7 separate regions of the Homo sapiens genome follow, and regions 1, 2, 3, 4, 6 and 7 are each linked to region 5. The links are contacts of gene promoters, found by promoter capture Hi-C in blood cells and fetal thymus (Javierre and others, 2016). All regions are on one chromosome and are shown on one strand. Each heading gives the region's core, a stretch centred on a gene start or on the middle of the fragment in contact. The rest is flanking DNA. Distances are from core to core; before and after follow the strand shown. Region 1 overlaps PARD3 (par-3 family cell polarity regulator). Region 2 overlaps CCNY (cyclin Y). Region 3 overlaps CCNY (cyclin Y). Region 4 overlaps CCNY (cyclin Y). Region 5 holds the start of CUL2 (cullin 2). Region 6 overlaps CCNY (cyclin Y). Region 7 overlaps CCNY (cyclin Y).

Region 1 (2,878 bases), core at 228-2,727, 320 kb after region 5:
GAATGCAAGTCCTTTTATTTTTTATTTGTTTTTGAGATGGAGTCTTGCTCTGTCACCCAGGCTGAAGTAGCTGGGATTACAGGGGGCCTTGCTAATTTTTTGTATTTTTAGTAGAGACGGGCTTTCACTATGTTGGCCAGGCTGGTCTCGAACTCCTGAGCTCAAGTGATCCACCCGCCTCAGCCTCCCAAAGTCCGGGGATTACAGGTGTGAGCCACCACGCCCAGTGAGCTTGGGTTTTCTGCTATAGAACTGACCAGGGCATTCTGGATTTGTGAGTGAAAGCAGGAACCCCTGGAGGGGTGCATCTTGCATTCTGCTTGTTGGGCGAGATGAATGTAGGCCACTCTACCTTCCAGACTGCAGAACTTCCTTGGTATTTACCTTTGTGAAAGGGATCCACAAATGACTTTTTACCCCTGCCAGGGGTTGATGGAAGTTGTTTCCAGGTGTGACCCATCTTCATTGGCTTATCCTGGCGAGCTGTTAGGAAAAAGTGTCATTTTAACTTGCTGTATTCCTCTGAAGCTCCAGAATACAAGATCTGAGCTCACTCTGTTGAAAAACTCCTTTGTTTCTACCTGAAAGCACAGGATGTTCATTTCTATCAGATCAGTTCTTTTCTGTATACCAGCCTGAACATGTGTGTGTCTTTGTCTAAGCACCTCTTGCTTCATAAGATACACCACCAAATTGAAAAGAGTTAGTGACAACTGTTCCTTGGCTGGCATCAAAACCAGACACCAAAGAAAAGCCAGCAAGTAATTTTGTAAGACTAGGTCGGGCTGACCGACGTCATTTTTCTTTCTCAGTTTTGTGTAACTTTTCTGTTTTAAAAAATTGTTTTGCATTAACACGCTGACAGAAATATGCTGCTAATGACATAGTCATGATCTTGATGATGGTGATAATAACTGTAGCCAGCCTTCCTTCACTCTTTGCTCCCCATGTGCCAGGCACTATGCTACACGTGGGACCCCTTTAATCTCACAGTGATCCTGTGTGGGGGGCATAGTTGTTGCTGTTACCTCAGATGAAGAGGGGAGGCTGAGCAATGTTGAGTCAAACCACAGGGACAGGCAGAGCCACGTTCTGAGCTGCACCGTCTTTCTTCCTGATGTAACCATTGTGCCCAGCACATTTAGCATCACCATTTGCTTTCAAAAGCCAGAACATTTTAATCAGAGGAATGCAAACTTTTAAAAGACATTATGAATTTACTTTTTGTGCAGTTTCCTGATGAAAATCACAGGGCTTGCATGTTTTCAAGTGACCAATTTTAATACTAGGTTGGTATTCTTCCTTCCCTCCTTCCTCTTGTCTCTCCGTCTTTCCCTTTTATGTCTTCCATCACAGGGAGTTCTGCATCTCCGTTGCAGAACAACCCTGTAGACTTTTAGGGTTTTGAGTTCCCAGAGGAGCATCTCAAAGCCTTTCCAAATCCAATGATGTCAGACCTTAAAGATCACGGGGCCCAGGGCTGGCAAATCCATGGCCTCACTTTGCTGCCCACCTTTCCGGGTCTGTCATGGAAACTGAGAACAGGGCACATCCCTGTCTGGAGTCTTGGAATCTCTACATCATTGCAGGTGATACCCCTAGGAAACTGGAACTTAAGATACAATTTATCTGCCTTTCCTAATTTACTCTGAAAGCAAAAGTTCTAGATTAGATTCCTGTGGTCCGTGGTGGGAGAGTCATCTGTCCAAGGCCACATACCTTGTAAGTGGCAGGTGAGTCTTGACTGCAAGGCTAGCGTTTTCTGCTCTGCCGGGACACCTTGATTTTCTCAGAATGCAGGTCCAGCGCAAGAGTTTCCTGCTCAGAAATGCCCATGGCTCCCTTTCACTTACAGTTCTTCCTGACCCTCAGGGCCTCTAGGATGAAAAGTCTGGGAGCAAGTTACTTCATCACATCCAGATAACCCTTTTATGTGCAGGGTGTTTGGTTGGAGGTGCTGCCCTCAAGGCGTTTACAGGCTAGCCGAGGGCTCGAGGTGTCATCTCCGTTTAAGAATGCTTAGAATACCAGGCAAAAAGTGATAGTTTTAATCAGCAGTAAGAAGTGCTTTTGCAGTTCAAAGGTGTGAGATGATCATGGATTGGCCATAACCAGGAAAGACTTTTGGGAGGAGATGGCATTGACTAGATCTTCATAGAAGGACAGATGTGTGGGCATGGTGACTGAAACAGCATGAAGGGTGACTTGTGTCTAAGGAGCAGGAAACATTTGGCTGGGTGATGTGGTCTGCAGGCAGAAGATAAGGCTAGGAAATGACTGTCCCGGAGGGTCTTGGATGAAGGGCCATCCGCTAATACTGAGGAAGTCATTGGGAGCCAGTGAAAATTTTTGAGCAGGGAAATTGGGGCTGTATTTTAACCAGATGGAGCTGGTTTGATGGTAAGGGTGTACTAGAGAAGGGGAACCCCACATTCTGAATTAATGTCACTTAGGAAAGGACCCCTTGTAAGTATGAAATGGTTATAATTGTGTGTGTGTGTGTATGAATTTGAGAAAAGTGTATAACTGAAGAACACTAGGTATGGTTTTCTTGTTTTTTTTTTTGTTTTGTTTTTTTGTTCGTTTGTTTGTTTGTTTGTTTTTTTAAAGACATGGTCTCTCTCTCCCTCTGTTGCCCAGGCTGGTGTGCAGTGGCATGATCACGGTCACTGAAGCCTTGACCTCCTGGGCTCAAGTGATCCTCCCACTTCAGCCTCCTGAGTAGCTGTGACTACAGGAACGTGCCACTATGTGCCAGGCTAATTTTTGTATTTTTTATGGAGACAGGTTTTTGCCGTGTTGCCCAAGCTGGTGTCGGACTCCTGGACTCAAGTGATCCACCTGCCTCAGCCTCCCAAAGTGCCGGGAGGTATGGTTT
Region 2 (2,869 bases), core at 354-2,853, 380 kb before region 5:
ACCTAGCTTCGAGAACTGCTATGACGATTAGGAGTCAGGTACTAGCGCAATGGGCAGGATGTCCACCACACAATAGGGTCCCCAGAAATAATGGGTATTAAAAACATTAAGCCACAGCACTTAGATCAGGGCTAAAGAAACAAAACTCTCAATACATAAATGTTAGGCTTAGAGACACTAAAGATTGTTAAATTTCATTACACAATTTCTGTTCTCTAAGGAGTGCTGGCTTGAAATTGATGTTTAAAAGTTTGGTGTTGCATACTCCTGACTTAGAGTCTCCTACCTCCTAAAAGAATGGCAAGATAATCCATAAATTAACCTGAGGAAGTAATGCTTTAGAGGAAAAGGCAGTTTTAAGGAATGTCATGGAATCCCCTGAGCTGACTTCAATCTAATATTTAGGAAGCAGAGTCTTAGCCTATTTTTTGTTTATGATGTTGATACCTATTAAGACACACAGCTGAATTAAAATATTCAAAGAATGGTTATTCTAAGGGCCTCCTGCCAGACTCTGAGGTGACAACTGAGTGTTCGGTCACACTGCTTTCAGTCCATGTGTCAGCTGAGCACAAAGTAAAATACAATGCCTTTATTCAAAACTAAAGATAAATCAAACGGCATGTGGCACAGTTTAATTCGGCAGTATTCTCTTATACTGGTCAACCTCATTTTCTTCAGTCTTTTCCACAGATGTCACAGTAACAGTGATCCACAATTGCTCATCTTGGCTTTTAAACCAGCACCAAGTTTACCTTCCAGTGTTATAAAGGATCCAGGTAATAAGATAGTGGCTAAGAAAAGCAGCCATCATAAGCTATCATTAATGGTCTGAAAAACTAGTAAAAAGTAAAGCAGAAAAGCACAGTAAGACCTAAACAGCACTGGATGGAGAGGAGGCGCCAAAGCAAGCCTGTAAAGTCAAACTATCCCCTCCCCCTCGCAAGCCCCTCGCATCCCCCTTTCTCTGCACTGCCACGCCCCAAACTGATAATCACTCCAATAAATCATCTCCACAAGATGGGCTGTCCACTTAGGTCTAGACAGTGTCAGTGAGCAGAGCCCAAAGGAATCAAGGGTTCTGTGATTCCTTGATAGGTTCTGGAACTTCAAGATGCACAGAAAGTGAGTTTCAACTGGGAGGCCAACTGTGGTACAGCCCCACAGTTACCCTCCGAAGACATCACTAGTTCTATTTCCTGTCTTTTGAGCAATATTTGATATGGTTAAAATCTCAAACCCCTAATTTCAATTTTAGGTAGTCACATTTCCAAATCTGGCTATGATGTGGGAGGCAATTATGAAATCAACAAAGCCTGTTAATTTTAAATCAGATTGTTTCTTTTGTTGCTATTATTGTCCCTGCCACTGCCTCACAATCAGTGATTATCTCCATTTGTTAGTGTCAACAGGATGAAATCAGGAGCTGACCAGGCTGGTTTGCTCCAGGAGGCTGTCACCAGGGAAGCCTGAGCCCAGCAGCCCACATCAGCATTCCCACGAGAACAACAGCTCCTGCTGTGGCTGCCGCAGCCAAGTGCTGCTACTGCAGTTCTGGTTAATCCCACCTAAAGCCATCTTTTCTACTCCCACTGACTTCAAGTTTATTTTCTGGACTATCATAACACACTTATATTTAGTTGTTTCCTATTTTCACTCTCTTTCAGCCACTGGTGCCCCTGCAGGTGATCTCCGTGTATGTCTTTGCAAGTGTGTGTCTCTGTGTCCACACGTCTACATGTGTGGGCCTCCAGGGCAGTCTCTCCGCAAGTGGGTTGCTAACTGAATGGATGTGTCTCTGTGTGCAGCTCTCTGTGCACACACATCCAGCCCTCAGTCATCTGCTCTGTTTGTCTGTCTGTCCCTCCATCTCCCTGTCCATCTCTGCATCTCCCCGTTTGCCTCTCCTTCCCTCTGTCGGTCTCTCCACCTGCCTGTCCGTCTTTCCATCGCCCTGTCTGTCTCTCCATCTCCCTGTCTGTCTCTCCAACTCCCTGTCTCTCCATTGCCCTATCTCTGTTTCCCTCTCTGTCTCTCCATCTCCCTGTCTGTCTCTCCACTGCCTTGTCTCCCCATCGCCCTATCTTTCTCTCTCCATCTCCCTGTCTCTCCATCTCTCTGTCTCTCCATTGCCCTATCTCATCTGTCTCTCCATCTCCCTGTCTGTCTCTCCACTGCCCTATCTCCCTGTCTGTCTCTCCATCTCCCTGTCTGTCTCTCCACTGCCCTATCTCCCTGTCTGTCTCTCCATCTCCCTGTCTGTCTCTCCATTGCCCTATCTCCCTGTCTGTCTCTCCACCTCCCTGTCTGTCTCTCCATTGCCCTATCTATCTCCCTGTCTCTCCATCTTCCTGTCTGTCTCTCCATCGCCCTGTCTCTCCATCTCCCTATCTCTCCATCTCCATATCTGTCTCTCCAGTGCCCTATCTCCCTGTCTGTCTCTCCATCTTCCTGTCTCCCCATTTCCCTGTCTCTCCATCTCCCTATCTGTCTCTCCAGTGCCCTATCTCCCTGTCTTCTCCCTGTCTCTCCATCTCCCGTCTGACTCTCCATTGCCCTGTCTGACTCTCCATCTCCCCCTGTCTATCTGTCTCTCCACTGCCCTGTCTGTCTGTCTCTCCATCTCCCTGTCTGTCCATCTCTCCATCTCCCGTTCTGCCTCTCCATCTTCCTCTTTCCAACCCATCTCTCAGTCTCTCTTCTCCTCCTTCTCTTTTCCTAGCTATAACTGTTTCCGTTTTCCCTTCTTCCCTCCCCAGTTCCTCTCTGCTGTCCTATTTCTAATTTTCTATCTTAATGTATCTAATATTCTATCTTAAGATTAATCAAGGAGATAAAGATGCTAATGTTAAGACTAAAGACAGATTAT
Region 3 (2,701 bases), core at 165-2,664, 310 kb before region 5:
TCAATGTACTTTGTAATCTCCCCAACCCTTAAGAAGGTTCTTGGTAATTCTCCCCGCCCTTGAGAATGTACTCTGTGAGATCCACCCCCTGCCCCCAAAACATTGCTCTTAACTCCATCGTCTATCCCAAAACCTATAAGAACTAATGATAATCCCACCACACTTTGCTGACTCAGCCCGCCTGCACCCAGGTGAAACAAACAGCCTTGTTGCTCACACAAAGCCTGTTTGGTGGTCTCTTCACACGCACACATGAGACAATTACTACTGCTAATTTTGAGCAAAAAAAAAAAAAATTCAGAGGGAGAAAGGAAGATGCCTTTGCTTGTACCTCCTAAGAAAAAAAAAAAAGAAAAGAAAATTTCTTTGGGAAATTTAGAATTGATCTCTCTCCTGGCAAAATAAATTTTTGTTATAGCTGTTTAAGAAGGAAACTGGCAGATAATCAGAACTGGACGGCAAAGTGTTTTGTGATCCTCCTGCAGATTCCAGGGTTTCAGTATCACCTCCAGCCATGCTGATTTAACCAGACAGACAGACAGCACTATCACAAAAGAGCACACCTGCAGCTTCCTTTCCTGGTAAGCAAATGGTCCTCTACGCAGTCCTCTGCACTCATCTCTGCCTCTCAGCTCCCTATTCTATTCTTATTAAACCTGAGAAGGAACTATCACAAGGGCAGGTAGAGTCCAACAATTCTAAGCACACAGAGCTCAGTATAAAATTCTACAAAAAATAGGAACTGCTGATGCTCGACAGAGCTGAAACTCAGCTGCCACCTGGGCCGGGGCCGGCCAGTTGCTGGGCCTCCACCCTAGGTGCTGCTGCACACCCTTCAGAGCACAGTTACTTCAGTAAAGTATTCCACAAAGTGTACATTTGAGAAAGTCTCTTCTCTTCTCTACCACCTTCTATTTCTCTCTCAAAAAAAAAGTGCGCATTAAGATAATAGTTCAATGCCATGGTGTGCCTACTATTAAAAAACACACAGTAGTCTGGGAAGTCATGCTAGAGTTTCCACAGCAACTGCACCATGGCTCAACTTGTAACAGCAACCATTCCATTCCAAAATGCTTTAAGAGACTCTAGAAAAGAGAGAGAGAAGTCAAGTTACAATCCCGGGGGAGGAGAAAACACGCCCTTGCTTTCATGTACTTGAATTCTCCCCATCAAAAATACTGTTTAAGTACATATTGCACCATTAATAAATATTCCTGCCCCTAATTATCTAACGAACAGTAGATAACTCTGGAAACAGCTACTGATAATTCTTTTAGTTGGGAGGTTAGAGAAGAGGTTGGTCGGAAAAAATTACTAATATTTTAAAACAGAAATATGCTTTCTCAACAAAGCATATTCTTAACTAAGCATAAAAGGTTACTTCGGGTAATCCAATCAAGTCAGCAATTACAAGGCTCCATTCCACGACGTGAAGCATCTTCTCTCCCTCTTTGAACCAGCTAATTCAAAGAGACCAACCTAAATGCCCCAGGAATTCATTCCCAAGGTGAGGGGAGGGGGAAAACAGGGAGGGATCTGTGCAGCTTCCTCTCCAAGAGGGGAAACAACCCCACCCCACCACCCCCGCCGCCCCCTGCACTGTGCTAGGGAGATTCTAAACAGAATGCCTTTCATCAAACCACTAGAAGCCGTTTTTAGTATTTTACAAAATCCAAAAGAATTCTTCTATAAAACTGCCTACATCAAATAGATGGTGCTGGAAGAAAATCCAAATATACAGAACAGCTATCCACAGGGCTAAAATCAGGCAAGGGAGATCTGCGATGGGAAGCAGGCAGGTGTCAGAAGGGACCCATTGCATGTCCCTTCTCTGAGACTCCAGCTCCACATATTTTCTGAGTCCCCATGTAAACTGGAGAACATACCTAGCCTTCCATGTCAACAGAACTTTATCTCTACTAGCCATGTATCTTATTCCAAAAACAAAAACACCAGTTTGGAGGTCAATCCTGTGTTCAGCCAGAACATCTCCAATCTACAGGAAGAAGTCTTCTCAGGGTTTGCTACATAACAGTCAGAATTTTCTCCCCCGCATGGCACTGAAGGGAGCATATTACTGGGATCTGCTAAGGGGGAGTCCAGTTATGTATCTCCCTATCAGTACTCCGCACATAAAAGATCTACTGCAGAAGAGAGATAACCCCTTATCTTTTATGTTTATTTTTGTAGAGACAGACTCTCGTTATGTTGCCCAGGCTGGTCTTGAACTCCTGGCATGAAGCAAACCCCCTACCTTGGCCTCCCAAGTGTTGGGATTAACAGCGTGAAACACCACACCCATCCTGCTCCTTTTCAATTGAGGAAGCAGAATAGCCTGTGCCTCCCTTCACACCTTGAATTAAACAGCGTTGTGTCCTGTGTCGGCCACCTGGCAGGCAGGCTGGTCTGTAAGTCATGTCACCTTCTCACCACTTCACACACTAGTACCCAAATTCTGTGGTGGAGTAAAAAGACTTCCAGAAAAGTGGAGTAGACACCCAAGACACCAGTCCCCGAGAAGTAACCTCAAACATGGATAAGCATCCTGGGCAGTCAAGCCAAGAGTTAGCAGCCAGACATGCAGTCCACAGCCTCCACGGCCCAGCAGGGAGCTACGACCTCACCATGCTCAACAGGAACATCCAAAATGCCACCCTCACTTTCAAAGTGCCCTTAGTTGTCTTACCGTCAAGCACACATG
Region 4 (2,858 bases), core at 244-2,743, 330 kb before region 5:
AGAGCTTAGACAAGGCCACACAATCAGTCATGCACTGCAGCCAGGAGCTCGGATCTAATGCTAAGTCCAATGCTTTTTTCAAAACACAACTGCCTATATAGAATTGTAGCTGAATATCATATGAAAAAGCTAACTCATCCCGGGATCAAGGAGGCCACATAGAAGATTCCAGACAGCTGAGGTGCCACGAGCCAGCAAGAATATAGAATAATGTTTTATTGACGACTGTAGGTTTTAAATTTAAATTTTAAAAAAATTTTAAAAGAATAGAAAGGTGTAAAATTAGATGGAAAAATGAGTCAAAAATATTTATAGAATACAAAATAAGTCAAAAAAATGTTTTAAAAAGAATATAGAATAGCATTTAAGAGTGCAGGCTCAGGAGCCAGCTTTTCTGACTTCAACCCTGACTCCTCCACTTGGCACCCTGATGACTGTGGGGCAGTGACTTTCTCTGTGCTTCAGTTTCCCCTCTGCAAAATGGAGATGAGTATCCACCTAAGATTGTTACGGAGACTGAATTAAAATTCACCCAACACTGAGAACCATATCTGGCCCACAGAAATTACTGTATTTATATTTACTGTCAAGAGAAACCTCTGAAGAGAAAGCAGAATGACTAGATTCAGATCTAACAGGCCTGGATATAAGAGCAAGGGCAGAAAACAGGAAAGTAAGTGAAAACAAGCAGGATGAGCTGTAGGGAACGGCATCCTGGAGGAAAACAAGTGACTCAGCTCAAGAAAATGGGAGTCCATCACAGACTCCAGTCAGCAGGGCCAGCTAGAAGAGCACCAGGCAACACGGACAAAAGCCAGAGAGGCATGAAACTGTCCCTGACAAAAGCCACCCGACGCTTCTAAATACCAAATGAAGGCAAAATAAAATTACTTGGTCTTAAATTGGAGGTGAGAAAATGAAGGCAGACCAGCAAGCTCTGTGTTCCCTGGGTCGGGGGTTCTAGAATAACAGAAACAGAGCACCTGCCCAGGACTGGAAGGCACTGATCCAGTGAACCCGCGTCAAGCTGACCATCAGGAGACTGGAGTTAGGATCCACATAGTTAGAGAGAGAGTGGTGCCAAGCACCCATGATAAACCGTGCCTCTGAACTTCCTGCAGCACAGAGACGGGAGCTCATGTGGAAGAGAAGGTAACAAAAGGGCCCTGAAACCAGGAATGAATTTAACAAAGAAATTCCCTCTCCTTTTACACTTGGCCTAGAAAGGTGATCCAGGAACAACACCTGAGTGGGCTTCTCCAGAAGCGGCCTGTCCAACCCGTGTGGCCGTCCTCAGCCAGGTCCTTTGAACCTCGTCCTACACCCAAAATCCCACCCCAAAGCAGAGCCGGCACTGGCATAGGTGCACACAGCCTGACTTCAAACAGGCCTATCCACTGGGCTGGCTGTGTGACTAACAAATAAATGTTAAGTACGCAAATTTACACTTGGCCATGACTTGCTCAAAATTGGCTTAAAATGCTGCAGGGTATGATTCTGAATCAGTAAACAACAATACATTTTTCACTTCAGTCAGCCAAACACAGAGTTCAAATAAGATTTTGAAATTAGAATTCAGACTCATTGCCATTTAGGCTGTGAATTAACAGTTAAAAATTAGTCTCCGTTCACATTCAGCTTAGGTTTGATGAGCAAAACTGCCAAAAGAAAGCATCTGTTTTTGCGGTTTGAAAACATATTTGCTTTAAAAAAGTTTACTTCATATTCAGTCCCTACTTTTTAGGTGAGAGTCTGATTTTGTTTTCCAGTGAGATTCTGGTGTGAGATTGCGACTTCCTCATGAATTGGTCATTGGGAACTGGGTAAGGTGATCCTAGATCCCACAGTGCACTCTCCAGAATCCCCATCAGGTGCTGAGTTGCTGAGTTGCACAAACATGTTCATCTCAAACTGAAGATATGCAGAAAGAGTAGTTGCAAAGTCACTGAAAAGCTACCTGTGCCAAATCAGAGACCCCAAAATATCACAGCAGCTTCACATTTTCATGAGAAACAAGAGGGCACAAGTGAGAGAGAGCCAGGAAAACCCAGGTGGGCCTGGTTTCTAGGGCTCGCTGCTTTTAGGGCCACTGGGGTCGGATCCCACTCCACCTCCACTGCTCACCAAAGCAAACAACATCAACTTTACCAAATATTCCTCTTGCTACAGAGCAAGACATGATTCATTCAGTATCACTATATCCTCCCACACACAAACAAAGGATGCACCATGATCCAGATTTCTTTAGGAAATTAGCAGCTTAATGAAAACTTCTTGAACTTATATACATGATGATTCTTCCACTATTTTATCTGTAAAAGATAGTCACAGGAAAAATCAGGCAAGCACAGACATAGGACCTAAATTAAGAACAATAGAAAATTAAGAACAGGAGTCAGCAAAACTTTTCATGTAGAGAAAAAACTAGATAAGAAAGAAACCATCTGCAGGACCAAAGGGCACCATTTATTTTGAACTGTACTAAAAAAAAAAAAAAAAAAAATTACAGCCATATCTATTTCTTCTTTTAATTATAAAGTTTGCCTAGAAATTAGTAATCTGTCAGCCTATTTCCTAATTTCAGCAGTCACAATGCTGTATGAATGACCTAAAAGTATCAAAACCTAAAGTATTATATACCACACACACACACATAAATGCACACATATATTTACGTAAACGTATATAAAGAGAGACATGAGATAAAGCAGTTAAAATCAATCTGTAGGACTAATTGAGTTGTATATCAAATGAGTTGATATGCAACTAAAATGAGCTGTATATCTAATGGGGTTTAGTTTTGAATTATCTCCAAATTAGCTATCCAATAACTTCCTCAGACCGATAACTTATCACCT
Region 5 (2,815 bases), core at 61-2,560:
GCAAGACTCTGTATCCAAAAAAAAAAAGGACCAGACATATTGCATTGTTAACAAACTAGTTGTTAACCTTATGACCTCTGTAAAGGTCTCAGGGATTTCCAGAGGTCTGGGGACCACACTTTGAGAATCACTAGATTAAAAGGGGGAAAACATGGGAGGAAAAAAAGGTCACATAATGGAAACATACTGTTGGATTGAATTTCGTATATAAAAACCCTTTACTGAAATAAAGAGTAGAGACTTCAAGTACCAAGAGAAGCAGATTAGAAGAGGAGGAAGGCTCTAGGGACTGATCAGGTCTGGAGGCAGGGTTTTAAATGGGCCTTGAAGGGTTCGTGCAGTTTGGAAGGAAGGGATGGGAGGGAAAAGCTTGCTGAATCGTATAAATGAACAAGACCCTGATGGTGAGCTCTTGAGGATATGAAAGGCAAAAAGCACTAAGGCCGGGCTTTTGTTCCTCTGTGGCCCTGCATATATGAGGAGGTGATGAGTAATTCTATATTTTTATCAGCTTTACCGTTTAAAACTCCAAGGGAGGAAAACCCTTCAAACTGATAGGCTTGGGGCTTGGTGAAGGTGGGGTATTAGTGAAAAAGATGTGAAGTTTCTTTATCGAAAATACATGTATGTCCAAGAAATTCTCTGTAGATAAAAACTAACAAGAAAAAGAGTTTGTCAGAGAGGAAAAGTAGTTTTGCTAATTTATTTTTGATCATTTGCAAAGCCCATGGAAGTGTGTGGCAAGAGGATTGTGGTGTCTTAGGATATTCACATAGGTCTGAAACAAGGAAAACATACTTCTGTTGAAAGCACCATTCCAACATATTGTTATTAGCAGTCCCTGAACTAACGGGTAGTGGGTGGGTACTGTGTCCATCAGCTCAGCGAACCGCAATTGCCTCATTGACAGCAAGCCCAGCAAGGAATCACTTGGAATATTAATTTCCGTGGCCTTTCGCAATCACACGAAGCTTGGCTCCCTGCGCTTGCCGTAACGCGGCCTGTACCATTGCTTTCCGGGTGGCGGGGGGGATTTGGCAGCAGCGGAAGAAGGAGACCGGAGGGTGTGTGTTGGGCAAAGCCGGAGGCAGAGGAGGACGATTGTTTTACGGATCCCGTGATCGGCCCGTCCTTCTCCCCTTTCCCCCCCTCCCTACCGCCCCTGTCCCGCCGGGGAGCGGCGGCGGCCTTGGACTTTGCTGTCTTTCCTCGCGGAGACAGGTGAGTGTCGGCGCGCGGGCTCCCCGGGCTTCGCTCCCCACCCCCCGCGTCTCCGGGGCCGGTGGCGGCGGCCGGCCGGGGAGGCGGCCTCGGCGCACAGTAATGGCAGCGCTGTGAGCAGGGGAACGCGAGCTGACAGCCGCCGCCGCCGCCGCCTCCGCCCACCTTCCTCGCCGGGGCTTCGTCTTTCACTCCTTCGGGCTGCCTCCCCCTCCCCTTGTCCCCTGCCCCTTGCCCTGCTTCTGCAGAAGGTAACCCCGCTGAGGGTCGGGGAGCCGGGCTGCAGGCGCCGGGAAACTTCCCTTCCCGGTTAATGGGTGGCGGGGCTGGGGCGGAGGAGAGGAGTTGGGGGCGACGAGGTGTGGGGAGAGGGATGAAAGGGGGAGGCCCGGGAAGATGGTATCCTGTAAGTGACCTCGGCTCCCCAGAGCGCTGACCCGTAAGCCCTGCCACCCCCTGGACTGGATCCCGGGCCTCCCCAACCCGATCTTGGCCGCCTCTCCCGCGGCCCCATTTTCCTTCGAAGGAGGGAAGGTGAGAGTGCGTGTATTCTTCTACATATTTACGTGCTCACACGAATACACAACTCTGTGTGTTTGTGTGTGTGTGTGGGGGGGGGCATCTCATGCATCCTTACCCCGAGTGTTTTCACTTTTGTTTCCGCAGACTGCAAAGATTGATAGCTTTGGGGAGGAGTATCCTACGTGCATGCTAGACTTCTTGTCTCAACCCTTAGGGTCTGGTGAAATAAGATCCTCACACGCTTTCTAGCACTTGCTTACCCTCTAGAGAGTCTGGACCATTCCCTACCATTACGTGCATGCAAATAAAACATCTGTGAATTGCAGACTGTTATTAATGTTAAGTCCACATCTTTGCCCCATGGATTAATATTAACAGTTGAAGGCCAGTACCCTGGGCGTTTAAATTTTGAAGATAAGATGCAAAATATTAACGTTCGCTATAGATTGTGACTGTTCAACATAAACGTCTTTGAACTAGACCTGGCCAAGCCTACCTTCGTAGTAAAGTATCGGAAATAATCACTTTGATCTGATTGACAACTGACTACATAATAATCGCTTAAAAACATTCAAAACACTGTTGCCTACCCTTTAGAATCTTACATTCCTTTTCAAGACAGACACATGAACAAATGAGCTATACTTTGCTTCTTTTGCCCTTATACAGTATCTGGAAGATCCTTCCAAAAGAGTCGCGTGAGATAAGAGAAGTACACAGTTTTTTTGTTTTGAGATGGAGTTTTGCTCTTGTCACCCAGGCTGGAGTGCAGTGGTGCGATCTCGGCTCACTGCAACCTCCGCCTCCCGGGTTCAAGCAATTCTTCTGCCTTAGCCTTCCATGTAGCTGGGATTACTGGCATGCGCCACCATGCCCGGCTAATTTTGTATTTTTAGTGGAGATGGGGTTTCACCATGTTGGCCAGGCTGGTCTTGAACTCCTGACCTCAGGTGATTCGCCTGCTTAGGCCTCCCAAAGTGCTGGGATTACAGGCCTGAGCTACTGCGCCCAGCCCACAGTGTTTTGAATTACTTGTTTTTTTCAATTGCTGTTTATGAGTTGGGGGAACATT
Region 6 (2,900 bases), core at 397-2,896, 350 kb before region 5:
GGCATACTATTTTTTATCTTCTATACCGTATTGTTACTGTACCTTTTCCATGTTTAGGGATGTTTAGATATACAAGTTCTTAACCACTGTGTTCAAATTACCTAAAGTATTCAGTCCAGTCAGATGCTGTACAAGTTTGTAGCCTAGGAGCAACAGGCTATACTATGCAGCCTACATGTGTAGTAGGTTAGACCATCTAGATTTGTGGGTAAGTACACTCTCTCATGTTCACACAATGACGAAATCACTTAATGAGACATTTCTCAGAAAGCACTTCTTAGAACATACCACCTTCATTAAGTGACACGACTGTATATGAAATAAAGGGAGAAAATAACACAAACCACATCAATAGCCCGTCCCGTAGCCATCCCCAGTAGTTTCTTTATTCATACTCCCAAATTCATTACTCATACTCTATATGTTCCAAACATGAAAATGTCTTCTACTCACCAAATACATCATGCTGTTTCATATCTCAGTATTTCAAACAGTTTTCCCTTAACTAAAAAGTTCTCATCCTACAAGCAAACTCCTACTTGTTTTTAAAAACTATTTTCAAATATCAAGTCTTGCAGGTAGACCACCCTAAACTCCCAACAAAGTACCTCCTATCCAGGCAATTTGTATGAGTCTCCGGTCTCATTATTTCACTACCTTTCAATTATAAAGCCATCTCTCCCACCACACTATGAGCCTGATGCACAGCAGATGGCTAATAAACTGTGAGTTAATTTTATGTCCTTTTAATGACTCACATTGCTTCTGCTTCAAAGTTCTAAGCTTAGCATTCAAGGTTACCTAATTTTCCCTTATTTAGTTCTATTTCTCCAACCACCACCATAAGCCCTTGGAGGGCAACCAGCACTGCCTCAGAGATCTGCATCACTCCAACGCAAACAGGGCCCTACACATCAGGAGTTATGGCAACACTCTGTGGGTCATGCAGGCTAAGTGACATTTCTAGCCAGCCCATGTGTTATACCCAGGTACACTTTCACTATTGCTTTACTAGGACTTTTAAGCTATTATTTAAAATGCAACAATGAATCTAAGTTCTTTCAAATTATGTCATCGTTTTAACTAAAACTATAAATGGGAACTTTTCCTTTCATACAGACTTTACAACAATGGGTATTCTCTTAAGTATGATCATTTTAAATCATACAGCCAAATTTGTTTTCCAGAGAAACACATTTTTATTTTACAATTAATACGTAATTAACTTCATTTAATGAAATGAACTTTATTAAAGACATCTACACCTTAAAATAAGATACACCAGCATGAACTCTTATCAAGTTTATGCTAATAACCTACTGCTTTTTCTTTTCTATTTTCATACAGGGCCTCACTCTGTCACCCAGGCTGGAGTGCAGTGGCACAATCTCAGCTCATGCAACCTCCGTCTTCTGGGCTCAAGCAATCCTCCCACCTCAGCTTCCCAAGTAGCTAGGACTACAGGCACACACCACCATCCCTGGCTATTTCCTTTTTTATTTTTAGTTGAGATGAGGTTTCGCCCATGTTGCCCAGGCCAGTCTCGAACTCCTGAGCTCAAGTGATCCTCCCGCCTCGGCCTCGCAGCCACTGCGCCCAGCCTCCTACCGCTTTTTCCATTGAAAAGCCCAATTGCTAAGCTAAAGCATAGTAATAATAGGGCCCTAAAATTAAGAAAACAAGAAACGTACACAATGCAGATACATAGGAAACTCTGTACCACTCTCTAAGGCCACAAACACTTAACATCAGGGAAAGCTCTTATTCATCTTGTCTCTGTTCCTTCCAAAATGAAAGTCATTTCAAAGAAGACTGCTTCTGCTTCTTTGCTAACAACAGTTTAAAGGCCAACTTGTTCTTGGCTTACAATGGTTCCATTCTGCAACATGGTAAAACAAGGCGGTATTCAGAAGAGGCCAAAACACCTGTCAGTGCTACAGACTCTCCCTGACCCTCATACCACATGGGGCCCCATTCTAGCTCCTTATGGGACTCTTCCTTTCCATTTCAGGCAAATGGAGTCTTATAAGTGGTGCTAACAATATAGAATCACTTCTGAATTGGCAATTGTATACTCTCTCTTCTAGAGAAAAACCCAAAGCAATATAATGGAAATAAGAGCACCCATCCTTAACTTCCCAGGTACACTTGTTAAAACAAAATGATGTGTGAAAAGAGATGTCTTAAAATAGCAATGACACGTGAAAATCTAGACTTCTTTCAGCTCAGTTTATGAGTTAAGACTACCTCTCTTGTAGCATAATTAACAAATGTATGTAATGCTTCTCAGAAGTAAAGATAAGCAGGGACTGGAGTCCCACGTGTGCAATTACACTTCATTCTACTTTGGAAACTGCTCTAGGCTCCGTCCTTTCTGCTGCCCAGAATCACTCTTTCTAGGAGCTGATTCTGAAGTTCTCTCCCACAGGTGATCACCACCACAAAGCTGTGCCCCGGACAGGGGTCTAAAACAGCAGAATACGCTGCAGTGAAGAAAACTTGAAGCTTATTCTGAAGACATCTAGCAAAGAGTCAGCACTAGGAGGGGTGGGAAGCAAGGGTCTGGAGGAGGGTAGGCAGATCCAGGCCAGGCTGTTTTCATAAGCAAAGCTGAAATGGAGCAGCCAGGCCTGTTCTCTTACATCTCATCTACGCTTGCCTCTGAGGTTCAACAGCAGAGTTGAGCAGTTCAGAGACCACTTGGCCCTTTCCAGAGAACCTCTGCTAACCTCTGCTCCAGAGTGGCCAGGGACACAAGGACATGAGAAACAGCACAGGGGTGAGTTCCCTGAGTTTCCTTTCTGCCTCACTTATCTCAGATAAAAGCTGAAGAAGGAGACAATCTGCAAACATGAAGGGTACAGACCAAAGAACACCTGCTCTCTCTGTCCAAAGAACAG
Region 7 (2,745 bases), core at 240-2,739, 400 kb before region 5:
CTACCAGCAGGCCACAGGTGCTGTCTAACAGTAGGACAAGGCTGTGGTAGACGGGGCATCAAACTCCCCCCAGCCTGGGGGAATTATCCCTGCTAACCTCTATTCTGGATCTGTGCTCACTGAGCAATGTTCTGACTGGGAACAGCGCAGGTCAGGAGAGAGGATATGATAAAAGGTACGGAGAAAACTGACATTCTGGGTCTAAATGATTTCATCTGAGTTTGTACTATATCAGCAGCTTTCTCCACACTGGAAAGCCCAAGGGATGAAATACTGGAGTCAGGTGATGCACCCAAGAAAAGTGAGCCACGGCACCCAAAGAGCGCCTCTGACTTACAGGGCGAGGCCTGGCCAAGAAACCTGATACCTGCCCTCCCCCCCCCATGCACCTCAAGAGAAGACTGCAGAGGGGAGAGGGGAGAGCTGGCCTGAGGGTGGCACGGTCATGCTGAGTTCTGACCCGGAATAGGAAAGCCCAAATACACCACCTGAGCCTAAAAAAACCTACATCCTCCTGTCCCTAAATAATGGATGTGTCGTTTTCTAACAAAGCTAGGGAAGGTAGGAGAAGGTAAAGCTGCAACACAAAACAGAAAGCCACTACTCAGGGAAGACTGCCACCGTGCCACGGCAAGTCTGCCCAGGGTGGGTCATGATGCCCTGCCTTCATTCCTTCATTCCCCTATGCTTGTGAGTTTCTTCTATGTGCTAGCCACTGCAGAGACTGCGGAATGTGAAAGGCACAGTTCCTATCCATGAGCAAGATGCAATCCAGCAGATAAACAGAAAGCTATTTATTTCTATACCACAAAAATAATCACCTCCACACAGAGGAATATGCAAACTGCACTGAACGTAATGCCACTGATTTTCTGATAAACCATTACTCTATGTGTCACTAAGAAAGAAAAAAAAAATGCTGCCAATTAAATTTTGGCAAGTCACTGACTGTGCTGATTTCAGAGGTGTTCCAGCCAAGGAAAGGTGTCTATCACAATCAATGGAATGAAGAGAAACAGGGAAGCATCACCTATGAGGCAGCCATTGGGCCAGCATGGACAGAGGGCAGGTGCTGCGGGCAGAGCATGCCACAGATGATGGCCTCTCAGGCCTGGAGGGGAGGGGACCCACAAGAAGGGTGAAAAGGGCTCTGTGTGTGTGCTGGTGTCTCACTGTTCCAGTGGTGAGGAGACAGACGGTCAGGCAGGGAGGGGCCTAAGAGAAGCTCCACTTGCAGACAGGTGGAAGAAAGGTTTGAGAGAGGACATGATGGAGGCAGGAGACTGGGAAGGGGCTCGCCACAGACTGGGTGAGGAAGGAGGAAACGAGAGTCCAGGCAGGAAGGGGAGGATGGGAGAAATTCAGGGCATATAGGTGCAGCTTAGACACTGACTACAGGACTCTGGGGGTGCCCATTAAGACCCAGACAAGCAATGGGTTTATTCTTAAAAACTAGGTTATGAGGCCGGGCGTGGTCGCTCACACCTGTAATCCCAGCACTTTGGAGGGCCGAGGCGGGTGGGATCACGAGGTCAGGAGATCGAGACCATCCTGGCTAACATGGTGAAACCCCATCTCTACTAAAAATACAAAAAATTAGCCAGGTGTGGGGGCAGGCACCTGTAGTCCCAGCTACTCGGGAGGCTGAGGCAGGAGAATGGTGTGAACCCGGGAGGCAGAGCATGCAGTGAGCCGAGATCGTGCCACTGCACTCCAGCCTGGGCGACAGAGCGTCTCAAAAAAATAAATAAATAAATAAAAAATTAGGTGACAAGGGAGAGGAAGCTGGCAGGAGAGGAAAGACGCTGACTTCTGATTTGGACATGCCAACCCCAAGGAGCATGTACGATTTCCAGACTGGCTGTCTACCAGGCGGCAGAAAACATCTCTGGAACACATGCTTACACTGGCAGGACGGGGTGGCTCCTCTTGCCAGGGGTCCTGGAAGAGGCTGGCTCAAGAGATCCCCAGTGAGGATCCCAAAGTACCTGTTACATCACAAGTCAATGAGCAGACATTGCTGAGGGCTCGCTGTGTGCCTGGGACTCACCCTACTGCTTCAGGAGAGCAATCTTCTAAGGAGACAGGTGTGTCCATTGTCAATTTATAGGAAGTTATGACCCAAGAGATTATGTGACTATAAATCCCACTAATGGAAGACAAAGGCCTAACGCAGAGCTGGGTCCTAGAGCCTTGCCTAACTGGAGGCCAGAGGCTGGTTCCCTGCCACTGGGGTGGCCACAGGTTGGCAAGGGCATGGGCAGCCCAGCACGCACAAATGGACCTGTCTGCACACTCAACTACTCATGGCTTTTGAGTACCCACCCTCCTCCACACACCCCAAACTAGAGGGAAAGACAGGTGAGGTAGTAGTTTTTGCAATTCTTTTATTGAAATGGTCTGTCACAAGTAACTTAGGGCTAGACTAGAGCAAAGGTCCTCAAACCAAGTATTCAAAGAGACCTTCAAATGGGCTGAGGTGTGATGCAGGAACCACCTTCCTCCCTCACAACTTCACAAAGAAAGGCAGGCACACCTGAGCTGAGGCCTGCACTGACCTGGTGTGAAAACCTCCAGGGGCACCAGATGGAAAGACAAGCAGCCACTGGGGTTGTGGTAACCACCTTCAATCCAGGTTCATGTGTCTTTCATCTCCTGCCAGCCTCCTGTGGCACAACCTGGAGGCTTCTTTGTCCTATGGACTTTCCCTGGAGGGGTGCTGGAAAGACTTCCGGCTCTGGGTTT

Evidence for each region. The method cuts DNA at HindIII sites, captures the fragments that hold promoters and counts their contacts. A CHiCAGO score of 5 or more calls a contact.
Region 1: a fragment that was not itself captured here is called in contact with the fragment with the promoter of CUL2 in region 5 in 1 of 17 cell types (fetal thymus); the score reaches 5.8 in fetal thymus.
Region 2: a fragment that was not itself captured here is called in contact with the fragment with the promoter of CUL2 in region 5 in 1 of 17 cell types (neutrophils); the score reaches 5.1 in neutrophils.
Region 3: a fragment that was not itself captured here is called in contact with the fragment with the promoter of CUL2 in region 5 in 3 of 17 cell types (activated CD4 T cells, neutrophils and total CD8 T cells); the score reaches 6.8 in activated CD4 T cells.
Region 4: a fragment that was not itself captured here is called in contact with the fragment with the promoter of CUL2 in region 5 in 4 of 17 cell types (activated CD4 T cells, total CD4 T cells, naive CD4 T cells and 1 more); the score reaches 10.3 in activated CD4 T cells.
Region 6: a fragment that was not itself captured here is called in contact with the fragment with the promoter of CUL2 in region 5 in 9 of 17 cell types (activated CD4 T cells, total CD4 T cells, naive CD8 T cells and 6 more); the score reaches 14.3 in activated CD4 T cells.
Region 7: a contact is called between a fragment that was not itself captured here and the fragment with the promoter of CUL2 in region 5, in 10 of 17 cell types (neutrophils, total CD8 T cells, total CD4 T cells and 7 more). The highest score is 19.9, in neutrophils.

The regions. Positions count from the first base shown.
Region 1 is chr10:34,769,492-34,772,369 of GRCh38, reverse strand. The region is part of intron 1 of PARD3 (par-3 family cell polarity regulator); the gene reads left to right. Among named protein-coding and RNA genes, the nearest start is that of PARD3, 44 kb to the left of the region's middle. The HindIII fragment of the contact is 3,192 bases long and covers 1-2,878 here.
Region 2 is chr10:35,469,338-35,472,206 of GRCh38, reverse strand. The region is part of intron 1 of CCNY (cyclin Y); the gene reads right to left. Among named protein-coding and RNA genes, the nearest start is that of CCNY, 130 kb to the right of the region's middle. The HindIII fragment of the contact is 9,869 bases long and covers 1-2,869 here.
Region 3 is chr10:35,399,164-35,401,864 of GRCh38, reverse strand. The region is part of intron 1 of CCNY (cyclin Y); the gene reads right to left. Among named protein-coding and RNA genes, the nearest start is that of CCNY, 64 kb to the right of the region's middle. The HindIII fragment of the contact is 8,358 bases long and covers 1-2,701 here.
Region 4 is chr10:35,419,569-35,422,426 of GRCh38, reverse strand. The region is part of intron 1 of CCNY (cyclin Y); the gene reads right to left. Among named protein-coding and RNA genes, the nearest start is that of CCNY, 84 kb to the right of the region's middle. The HindIII fragment of the contact is 5,790 bases long and covers 1-2,858 here.
Region 5 is chr10:35,088,836-35,091,650 of GRCh38, reverse strand. It overlaps CUL2 (cullin 2), which reads left to right and starts at 1,310. Exons shown (of 21, transcript NM_003591.4): 1 at 1,310-1,472. RefSeq lists an enhancer at 890-1,029 and silencers at 948-1,136, 1,190-1,389, 1,410-1,539. The HindIII fragment of the contact is 6,346 bases long and covers 974-2,815 here.
Region 6 is chr10:35,440,187-35,443,086 of GRCh38, reverse strand. All of the region lies in intron 1 of CCNY (cyclin Y), which reads right to left. Among named protein-coding and RNA genes, the nearest start is that of CCNY, 110 kb to the right of the region's middle. The HindIII fragment of the contact is 1,722 bases long and covers 786-2,507 here.
Region 7 is chr10:35,490,632-35,493,376 of GRCh38, reverse strand. All of the region lies in intron 2 of CCNY (cyclin Y), which reads right to left. Among named protein-coding and RNA genes, the nearest start is that of GJD4, 110 kb to the left of the region's middle. The HindIII fragment of the contact is 6,610 bases long and covers 1-2,745 here.